3 separate regions of the Homo sapiens genome follow, and all the other regions are linked to region 2. The links are contacts of gene promoters, found by promoter capture Hi-C in blood cells and fetal thymus (Javierre and others, 2016). All regions are on one chromosome and are shown on one strand. The core of a region is centred on a gene start or on the middle of the fragment in contact, and the rest is flanking DNA. Distances in the headings are between cores, read along the strand shown. Region 1 overlaps LBR (lamin B receptor). Region 2 holds the start of PYCR2 (pyrroline-5-carboxylate reductase 2). Region 3 overlaps DNAH14 (dynein axonemal heavy chain 14).

What was found. The method cuts DNA at HindIII sites, captures the fragments that hold promoters and counts their contacts. A CHiCAGO score of 5 or more calls a contact.
Region 1: a contact is called between a fragment that was not itself captured here and the fragment with the promoter of PYCR2 in region 2, in 3 of 17 cell types (naive CD8 T cells, neutrophils and total CD4 T cells). The highest score is 6.3, in naive CD8 T cells.
Region 3: a fragment that was not itself captured here is called in contact with the fragment with the promoter of PYCR2 in region 2 in 1 of 17 cell types (naive B cells); the score reaches 6.0 in naive B cells.

Annotation. Positions count from the first base shown.
Region 1 is chr1:225,400,523-225,404,115 of GRCh38, forward strand. LBR (lamin B receptor) reads right to left here. Exons shown (of 14, transcript NM_002296.4): 14 at 980-2,941. The coding sequence ends at 2,781. Among named protein-coding and RNA genes, the nearest start is that of LBR, 26 kb to the right of the region's middle. The HindIII fragment of the contact is 555 bases long and covers 1,165-1,719 here.
Region 2 is chr1:225,922,508-225,925,865 of GRCh38, forward strand. It overlaps PYCR2 (pyrroline-5-carboxylate reductase 2), which reads right to left and starts at 1,743. Exons shown (of 7, transcript NM_013328.4): 1 at 1,537-1,743; 2 at 1,194-1,264. The coding sequence starts at 1,603. RefSeq lists silencers at 1,340-1,469, 1,780-1,869, 2,010-2,089 and an enhancer at 1,640-2,289. The HindIII fragment of the contact is 26,114 bases long and covers 86-3,358 here.
Region 3 is chr1:225,379,962-225,383,495 of GRCh38, forward strand. DNAH14 (dynein axonemal heavy chain 14) reads left to right here. Exons shown (of 86, transcript NM_001367479.1): 80 at 198-361; 81 at 1,422-1,618. Among named protein-coding and RNA genes, the nearest start is that of LBR, 46 kb to the right of the region's middle. The HindIII fragment of the contact is 938 bases long and covers 1,131-2,068 here.

The sequences.
Region 1 (3,593 bases), core at 192-2,691, 520 kb before region 2:
ATTCCTATATCATCCTCAGGCCCCTCTATACTCTGTGGACGTATCAGCCAGATTTTATACATGAGGAAACCAGTGCTCAAAGAGATTAATTGCCCACACACACATTGCTAAGAGGGAGCACAGCTAGCATTTGAAGCCACATCTCACTGTCTCTTTATCATGGCAATGGTCCATGGGCAGAAAGCATAACCCACGTGTACACAAATGAAGATCCCAACAGTCCCCTCTCTCCATAGTAAGGGGGGTAGAAAAGGTGGGACTTGTACCCAGCACTAGACTCTTTTAACAGCCATGAACAAAACATGTATTTAATTGTCTAGGAAACTGTACCATCTATATTTAAGTAAATTGCACCTAGAAACACTCCACCTTGTATCTTTTGTTAAAATCCTATATTTCATCATTTGCTCCAAACAGTGCAAAACTAAACACCAAAATATAAATCGTATACTTGGTATTGGTGCATATTCTGACACACCCACATTTTGCAATGTAATGTCACAATGTAACGTCGCAGCAGGAAGAATTGAGAGGTGAAGCTGTCTGATCTCATCTCACAATTCAGGCTTAGAGTCAACTGGAAATCCAAACAAGCACTAAAGCACGGTCAGCAGGCACAGTACATGTGTGTGTCTCGTGTGTCTCTCACACACGTACTGTCTTTCAAATGCACAGATGCTTCTGTGATTCATACAAATGCATTTGAAAGTATGACTGGATCTACAATAGTTTTAGCATTTCTGTATTTTCTCAAACAGCAAATACTAAACACATGACCATTTTCTGGGAGTTAGGATTCCCAACTAACCCCTTTGAGTTCCAACATTCTGAGAGTTTTAAACAGCAGTTGGCCAGGGGTCCCAAACAGATGATCCTAGGAAAACAGGAGGCTGGGCAGGGGTGGGAATCTAAGGGCTCCTGTCTTGGTCCCAAAAATCTCAGTTTCAAGCAAGAAAGGGAAAAAAAAAAGGCTCCAAAGTGATCAAAATGTTGCTACATTTTATTTTCAACTTAAAACTTCATTATAAAATTTGCCAAATAAACATGTCAAAAACAAACTTAAAAACAAAGTGTAGCTGATATCCAGAAATTGCAGCACTGTATTGATAAAGGGCTCTTTTCATTACCAGGGAAAGAATTTAATGTCCTTCCTTCCTCCCCAAAAGCTTCCTTGGTGCAATCCAGTACAGAAAACGCCACCACTTTCTGATGCCAGGAGAAAAGCAAAATAAAAAAACTGCTTGCACACATTAGCACTGATAAAACAATGACAATTTCACTAAAAGAATGTTTAAAGACTACCGGATGCTGGAGCAAACCAACTTCATGACTGCATTAACATAAGCTAAGTTACATACACTTCAAATGCAGTATAGAATTAACACTGCATATCTAAATGGCTCATATATAAAATGTGTAATTAAAACCCAAACATACACACTATGTTTATTACATTCCCCTACATTGAAAGTACTGAGAACAATTTAACTCTGAACACAAAAGTTTAGTGAATTTGCTACTGTTCCATTACAGGACAATTAAAAATGAGACTATATCAACTTCACTAGAATTTAATTGCTAAAGCTACCTTATGCACATCTATTAAACTAAAAGAAACGACTTTAACCCCTTCAGTTGTTTTTAAGACAGCACTCCTTTACAGGGAGTCAGGTTTGGTAAATATAAAGGATACATAAAAAATACAGTATAAACTGCATAAGCTTAACAGTAGCAAAAACACTGATGAACTTTTAAAAAGTCAAAAATATATAAAAATATTAGCCTGAAATGGCAAATTTTCAAACACCGATCTGTGTAAAAATGTTTAAATATTGATGTTACTCCAAAAATATATACTTATTCTATTTTTTTTCTATTTGCAACAGTTTATAAAGGCAAACAAACACCTGCAATTGAGGTAGCAAAGCCAAATTCACAAACTTTGGATCAAGAAAAATACCCTTCCTATGTTTTAACAGCATCTTCTATACAATAGTGAATGAATTCTAATTGTTCCAAAATTTTTAATTCACATTACTTTACAAAATTTTATTTAAAATACTGAAAATGTTTTGTTAAAAAGACAGTTAGTCCTGACAATCATCTCACATTCAAAATACTGTACAAAAAAATCTGAAGTCACCATATATTACAAAAAACTAAGCTATGTATTTACATTTTCAATGTAGTTTTAGAAGTTGAGGTTAAGCCAACTGCTACAAATGGTCTCCTTTAAGCAGTGTCTGCTAATAATGTCATCACTTTTCACTTTCAGCATTTAATATAGGCCCTTCTTTTTGCTTTCAAATTATATAATTAGTAAAGGATTTAAAGAAAAACAAATGAAAATTCTATTCTCTTACTGAATAAAACATAAATGTACTTTAAATGGAACAGTGTTTTCATTTAAGAAAAGCCAACTGGCAAAAAAACATCAAAATTTGAAAAGTAATCAGAAACCATAAACATCAATAGCATTCTTCACAGTACATTTATATTAAGACTGTCTTCTGTTTTCAGATTAAGGGTTGAAAATTTCCCATTAAAATGCAAATTCTCACATCCTTACTTGTATTTTTCCTATGTTAACTGTAAGTTAATACAAGTAAACACGGCTATATTAAAAGATCAACTACTCGGCTCCATAGTCCTGACTCAAAAAGAAAAAAAAAAGTACAGACCCTGTCAGTGCAACAAAAGAAAGTTTCGGATTTTTTTCCTTGTTTTTGCAAATGGCAGCTGGAATTGCAGGAGTATTTTGTAGAAAAGCCAGAAGAGCATTAGTAGATGTATGGAAATATACGGTAGGGCACACGCTGACAGTACTTTTCCCAAGCCACGCCGTATTTCTTCTTACAGTGGTACTCGTCACGAGCTTCTCGGTGGACAAGCAACATGGTGAAATAAATTATGTAGAAATAAGGCAGAATGTGGTTAAAACCTGTGGATAATAATAGTACACAGTATTAGATATTTTTATTATCACTACAATGTATTTTTTCCTGCTTTCCCCCAAATTCTCTAAAAATGGAACCACAAGGTACTTCATTTTCTCTAATAATGATGAGAATAATTAAACAAGTCTGTAAAATCCCACTGGAAAGTGGCAGAAGGTCGTATCTAAATTAGAAGCTACTCAAAGACTGATGAATCCATTCTAACAATCCATCACAATCAAAACATCTGTCCTCATAGTTAATACACATCTCTTCATTTCTCGCCCTTCTTCCCCCAGCAAAGAAGAAAAACTGCTGTCTTCCACCACAGGCTGGGCCACCAAACAGGCAGCAGGCACGGGCCAGCTCCTCCACCTCCACCAGCTCCCCTGGATCCCCCTGCTCCCCCAGTTCCCCCAGCTCCCCCAGCTTCCCAAGATCCCCCTGCTCCCCCAGTTCCCCCAGCTCCCCTGGCTCCACCAGTACCTCCAGCTCCCCCTGACACCCCAGCTCCCCAAGCACCTCCAGCTCCCACAGCTCTCCCTGCTCCCCTGCTTTCCCAGCTCCCCACGAGGCCAGACACACAAAAAGAAAAACAGAATCTCTTTCTCTTCTTAAAAACCAAAGTTTTTCCCAATCTATGTACACTGAATCATG
Region 2 (3,358 bases), core at 493-2,992:
GCCCTCAGGGTTCTACCCCTACCCCAAATAATACAGTTTCCCATTGTTGCTACTGGACAAGTAAGCACAGGCTTGGAGCATGACAAGCTTCTCCATGGTAACCAGGAAGTGGCTGCCCTTCTTCCCTGCCAATCTTCTGGTATCTAAGGCACTCCTCTGCCAGGTAAGAAGGCCCTATGGTGAAAGTGGCAGGGCAAAGGGAAATGCTAATACCTGGTCGTTAAAAGCACAGCTGAGTCAGGCCCTATCCTAACCCTGGCCGCTTGTTCGTGGGGACCGCACAGTCTCCATGTGGTCCAGGGCTAGGCTGGAAGCCATCCATCCCTCTATGACTCCAAACTGAGAAGCAGGACCCTCCAGTGCTAGGGACATCAGCCCACCCTAGGCACAGACACTGCCTGTCACCTGCCTCATCAGCCATCCTCTCCCACAGAGCACAGGTTTTGGGTGAAGACTTGGAATATGTTTTTGGAGAACAGAACAACTAACTCACCAGATTCTTCCCAATATGCTCATTCACGACTCAGAATAACAGCAAAGTGGCCACTGTTGTAAATGAGGAAATAGCCTCAAAGTGGCTGAGTACTTTAAGGTCATACAACTCGTCTATTAAGAAAAATGGCTGAGCGCAGTGGCTCACCCCTGTAATCCCAGCACTTTGGGAGGCCAAGGCGGGCAGATCACTTGAGGCCAGGAGTTCGAGACCAGCCTGGCCAACAGTATTCTCTACCAAAAATACAAAAATTAGCTGCGCGTGGTGGATGCCTGTAATTCCAGCTACTCGGGAGGCTGAGGTGGGAGGCTGAGGTGGGAGGCGGAGGTTACAGTGAGCTGAGATCGCGCCACTGCACTCCAGCTTGGGCGACAGAGTAAGACCCTGTCTGAAAAAAAATTTAAAAAATGAGTATTTATTAGGTACCTACTATGTGCCAGGTGCTTTCATCACATAATCACCTCAGTTAATCCTCTACCACTCCAGTGTCTGGATCTGACCCCCAGTTATGTCTCCCTGGGTGTTCCCACCACATTGAGCTGCCCAAGAGAAGGTGGAAAGATTGTCACGTTCCTGGAGTAAAGGTCACCGCCGGCCAAAGACCAGCACTTGGGCGCAGGGGCCGGCCAGACTCACTTCATCTCAGGTCATCCTTTTCCTGGGCCTCCACCCGCTTCCCACTCCGCCCGGCTCCACCTACCCTGAGCGCGGACACCGTGGGCAGGTTCATTTCTGGGGAGCTGGCTATTATCTTGTGAGCCGACAGGATGCCTGCAGAAGACAGAGCTTTTCAACTAGGGGTCGCGGCCCAGCCCGTTACCACGCTTTCCCTGGCTCTAAAACCCAGAGCCGTCCTAACAGTGCCAGTCTCCCTCTCCCCCTCAACCCTCTACGAGGACAGAAGACGCACTTGCTGCTCAACCAGAGTCTCATCTACCCCACCGGACGCAAACTCCCCTTTCATTCGCTCATGCTGGTGGGACGGAGGCCCCCTCGGGCCTCGGGACCGCCCGCGAAGCCGCCTCCCGCCTCCACGCGCTTGCCTGCGGCCGTGAAGCCCCGCGCCAGAGCATAGGCCAGCTGGCCGGCCCCGATGAAGCCCACGCTCATGGTCCGCGGTTCACGCCTCCTGGGAGCCGCACGAACCCCCTCAGCGAGGGACCGGAAGTAACGCTAGGGGAAGGGCGGACAGCGCAGGGGCGAACGGGCGGCGTGCCGAGGACCGGCGAGCTAACAGCAGCTTCTGGGATGGTGCAACCCTATTCTCCCCCGGCGGATATCTCCCGGGCGGCTGATGGCGCCTTAGGCCACGTGGCCCCGCCCCGTCCGGGCGACCAATCAGTGGCCAGGATCTCGGGGCAGGCCAATCCGCGGCCCGAGCCAGGCCGCGTGCCCGCCTCCTCCGCTCGCGACTGGAGGGCGGAACTCCGGGCTGGAGTCCCGGAAGCCCCTGTGGCAGCTTGGCGTGAGCTCCAGGCGCCCGCCGGCCCAGGACGCCCGGCCGCCCCCACCCCCCCCCCCCACCCCAAGGCTGAGGTCGCCGTCCCTAAGCCACCTCGGGCTCAGGGCTGAGGCCTGGCCCAGGCCTGGCTAATATTATTTCTGGCGCTGGCCATCAGATGCCCCTCAAGGCCCACAGGAATTCTCCAGGTTGCCGATTTGCGGGGATGAACGAGGCCCTCCTGGCGTAGGTTCAGACCAGGTGGCGGCGAGGTTCAGACCAGGTGGCGGCGAGGCGGCACCAGGGTGGTCAGCCGCGGCTTATTCACTTGAACTTGAGTGTTTCTCGCGAATTTGTCCAAACTAGATACAAGAAGGACAAGTTCGAGTCTCCGACTCTTCCGCGATCCCGCACCCCCCAGCCCCTTGCTGTCACTTGCCTTTTTTTTTTTGAGACGGAGTTTCACTCTTGTTGCCCAGGATGGAGTGCAGTGGCACGATCTCGGCTCACTGCAATCTCCGCCTCCCGGGTTCAAGCGATTCTCCTGCCTCAGCCTCCCCAGTAGCTGGGATTACAGGCGCCCGCTACCACGACCGGATAATTTTTGTATTTTTAGTAGAGACGGGGTTTCACCATGTTGTTCAGGCTGGTCTTCAACTCCTGACATCAGGTTATCCGCCCGCCTCGGCCTCCCAAAGTGCTGGGATTATAAGCGTGAGCCACCGCGCCCGACCTGTCTCTTGCTTTTAAAAGCTCCACCAATGTGATGTTTCCTTTTCTATCAGTAGTAAATATAAGGGGCCGCAGGGAACAAATGACAGAAGTAGAGAGGAAGAAGGTGGCGTTCCTAGAGGACTCAGAAGAGCTGAGGACCCTTAGTTCCCATGGTCTCTCTGCTAGCTTTTCTAGTCCTTTCCGTGTAATGCACACCCCCACTCCCAGGCAAGGGGCTGCTTTCTGTGAACTTCCCTGAGCAAGTCCCCAGGCCCTCAGTTTGTGCACCCTTTAAAGTGAGGACCAAATATAATATTTACTATTAAGCAAAATAATGCTATGTTTTATTTATTTATTTATTTATTTATTTATTGAGACAGAGTTTCGCTCTTGTTGCCCAGGCTGGAGTGCAATGGCACGATCTCGGCTCACTGCAACCTCCACCTCCCGGGTTCAAGCGATTCTCCTGCTTCAGCCTCCTGAGTAGCTGGGATTACAGGCATGCGCCACCACGCCCGGCTAATTTTTTGTATTTTTAGTAGAGACAGGGTTTCTCCATGTTGGTCAGGCTGATCTTGAACTCCCGACCTGAGGTGATCTGCCTGTCTCAGCCTCCCAAAGTGCTGGGATTACAGGCGTGAGCCACAGCACCTGGCCTCTGTATTTTTTAAATTCGAAAAGTAATACAGACATATTGAAGAAAGTTTGGA
Region 3 (3,534 bases), core at 350-2,849, 540 kb before region 2:
GGGAACTTTCAGTATCCTCTCTTCTAGCTATTTGAAGATGTATAATCTATTTTTGTTACCTATACTCATCCTACAGTGGTATAGAACACTAAACATATTCCTCCTGTCTACCAGTAATCTTGAATCCTTTAACAAATCTCTCCCCATCTCCCCACTTCCTGTTCTGTGTCTCATTCTTCTCTTGGTTTTTTTTGCAGACCTGAGCAGAGTAAGGATGAACTGGTGATGGAAATTCTATCCGACTTGCTAAAGCGGCTGCCACTGACAGTGGAGAAAGAAGAAATTGCTGTTGGAACTCCAAGCACATTGAAGAGCATGATGTCAAGCTCCATTTGGGAGTCTCTTTCTAAAAATCTCAAAGGTGAGCATGGGACAGGAGCTTTTTCCCCTTACCTCACTCTCCTCAAGAAAGGACTCTGGTGTCAGGAGTAAGGTAAAGATAAGACAAAAATTCTGTAGAAGTGAAAATACTGAGATAAGATGGAAAACTCAGTCTCTGCCTCCTCTCTCCAAGTTGAAAGACAGAGAGCACAGAAGAAAATCACGCTTTAGTTTGGGGGTGGGTAGCGTGTGGCACTGAAATCAAAAGTGAAGAAATAACAAGTGTAGCAAACTAGAAAGCAGCAACTCTGCTTTGGAGATTGTCAAGAGTTCTAGGTGCCTGTTCTCTCTGCCTCTCTGCCTTCTGGAACAGCGGAAGTTTAGATGGACCTTCTGCTGAAAGACCACTTGACTCCAAGAAGCTAAGGGGAATCAGGGCAGGCCCAGGAAGACAGAGGAAGCCTGATTGCCCAGAGATGACTCCAAACCCAGCTCTAAGTGGCTAAATTGCTAGACTATGATAATTTTCCCAGTTAAATTTTAATACCCATATTTTATCCCTTTGCAGAAGTTTATTTGGGAACCAAATATTGAGCAATAGTTTATCAAAACAGTGTCATTGTTGAGTCTCAATCAAAGGTCAGCAAATTAGGGCTCGCAGGCCAAATCCAGCCCACCATTTGTTTTTGTACAGCCTGTGAACTAAAATGGCTTTTGCATTTTTTAATGGTTAAAAAAAATCAAAAGAAGGAATATAGTTTGTGACACATAAATGTTATATGAAACTCCAATTTGAGTGCCATAAGTAAAGCTTTACTGGAACACAGCCACACTTACTCATGACATATTGTCTATGCATCCACACATAGTAGATAGTGTGGCCGCACCCACACTACAAGGGGAGAGCTGAGTAGCTTTCACAGAGGTGGTGTGGTCCCCATACCCTAAAATGTTTGCTATCTGACCTTCTACAGAAAATGTTTATCAACCCCTGGTCAAGACACACAAAATTCCCTTAACTTTCAAAGCCTAAGTCCCTCCATGTAAAGCCTCTTTTTAATCTGTAAAATATCAAAATTTTATTTCTTTTTAAAATCCAGATCACGACCCCCTTATCCATTGTGTCTTGCTAACCTTTTTGAAGCAAGAAATTAAACGATTTGATAAGTTATTATTTGTCATACATAAATCCTTAAAAGATCTTCAGCTTGCTATAAAAGGAGAGATCATCCTCACCCAAGAATTGGAGGAAATATTTAACTCTTTTCTTAATATGAGAGTGCCTACATTGTGGCAGGTAAGCAATTATTATTATTTCCTATTTTCTTGCTTGCTTGAAATAAATGTCCAAGTTCAAGGGAATGGTGAAGGTAAATGGTGCATCTGTGTGATGAAATATGTAACTCTTAAAAGATGCTGACGTACTTTTTCATATTTTCACATCTCTGAAGTTGGAATGCCTCTTAACAGTCACTGTTAGCCAGGCAGCACCATCACTTAGTTCTCACTATCTGTGTATGTGAACTATGTATCATGGCAGTTCATGTCAAAGTAGGTGCACTCTTGGTATTACTATAAGTGTTGAGTTTAATTGCTTTTAAAATAAAAACAAAGCTAAACAAGATGATGAAGAAATTACTGGGTCATGGTCTTAAACAGAAGACCAAATTGTAAAAACACAAAATGTATTAGACCAGGAATAAAATAAGCCATGGAAGATCTGGCAGCACAGAGTAGGAAATTAACAAGCTTGATGTTGGACACAAACACTATTTCTCCAGAAATGAACTTCTCCCCTTAGGATTAGCACTGGCCTTTTCCAGAACCCTGAATCCTATACCAGATTGAAAACCTGTGTAGACATGTGAAAAGATGTTCAACAGCATTTGCTTTGAGGGAAATGCAAATCAAAACCACAATGAGATACAACTTCACACCTACTAAGATGGAAAGAATTAAAAATACATAAAAACAAGCATTGGGAGAAATTGGAACCCAAATGCACCACTCATGGGAATGAAAAATGGTGCAGCTACTTTGGAAATAGTCCAGTAGTTCCTCAAAAAGTTAAACAGATTTACCATTTGACCCAGCAATTTCACTCCTAGGAATATATCCAACAGAAATTAAAGCATAAATCCAGGCCGGGCACAGGGCCTCATGCTTGTAATCTCAGCACTTTTGGAGGCCAAGGTGGCGGATCACCTGAGGTTAGGAGTTTGAGACCAGCCTGGCAAACATGGTGAAACCCCGTCTCTACTAAAAATAATAATAATAATAAAATGGCCAGGCATGGTGGTGGGTACCTGAAATCCCAGCTACTTGTGAGGCTAAGGGAGGAGAATTGCTTGAACCCAGAAGGCAGAGGTTGCAGTGAACTGAGATCATGCCATTGCACTCCAGCCTGGGCAACAGAGGGACACTCTGTCTCAAAAAAAAAAAAAGTCCACCCAAAAACTTGCACATGAATGTTCATGGCAGCATTATTTGTAATACCCAAAAGGTGAAAACAACTCAAATGTCCATTGACTGATGAATGGATAAAATATGGTATGTCCCTGTAATGAAATATTATTCAGCCAGCAAAATGAATGAAGTACTGATACAGGCTATCACATGGATAAACCTTGAAAACAGTAGTTCTTCTGTGCTAAGTGTAGGAAGGCCATCACAAAAGACCATATATTGTATGATTCCATTTACAAGAAATGTCCAGAATAGTGACAGAAAATAGATTATTGGTTGCCTCAGTTTGTGGGTGACAGAGAACTGGAGAATGGATGCTGAGAGGGTTTTCTTTTGGACTCATGAAAACGTTCTACAATTGACTACAGTGGTAGTTGCACAACTCAGTGATTATACGAAAAACCATTCATTTGTACACTTTAAATAAGTAAGTTGTATGGCATATGAGTTATATCTCAATGAAGTTATTTTTAAAACCTAGGTAGAAAACATGAAGACAGACGAGAGGAAATAATAACAATTATAATTCCTTAAAATTGAATACAAGCTGTGATGAAAAATTGAGATGTGGAGACACATCCGAATCACAGGACTTCAGAGCTCGAAAGGATCTTAGGGAACCCCCACTCCAATGACCTTATTTTACAGATATGGAAACTAAAAAGCAGAGAGGCCTTATTACATTCTTAGCAAGCCCCGTGGTGAAACAGCTAGGACTCCACACGTGCAAAGTTAGGCTGAAAGAAC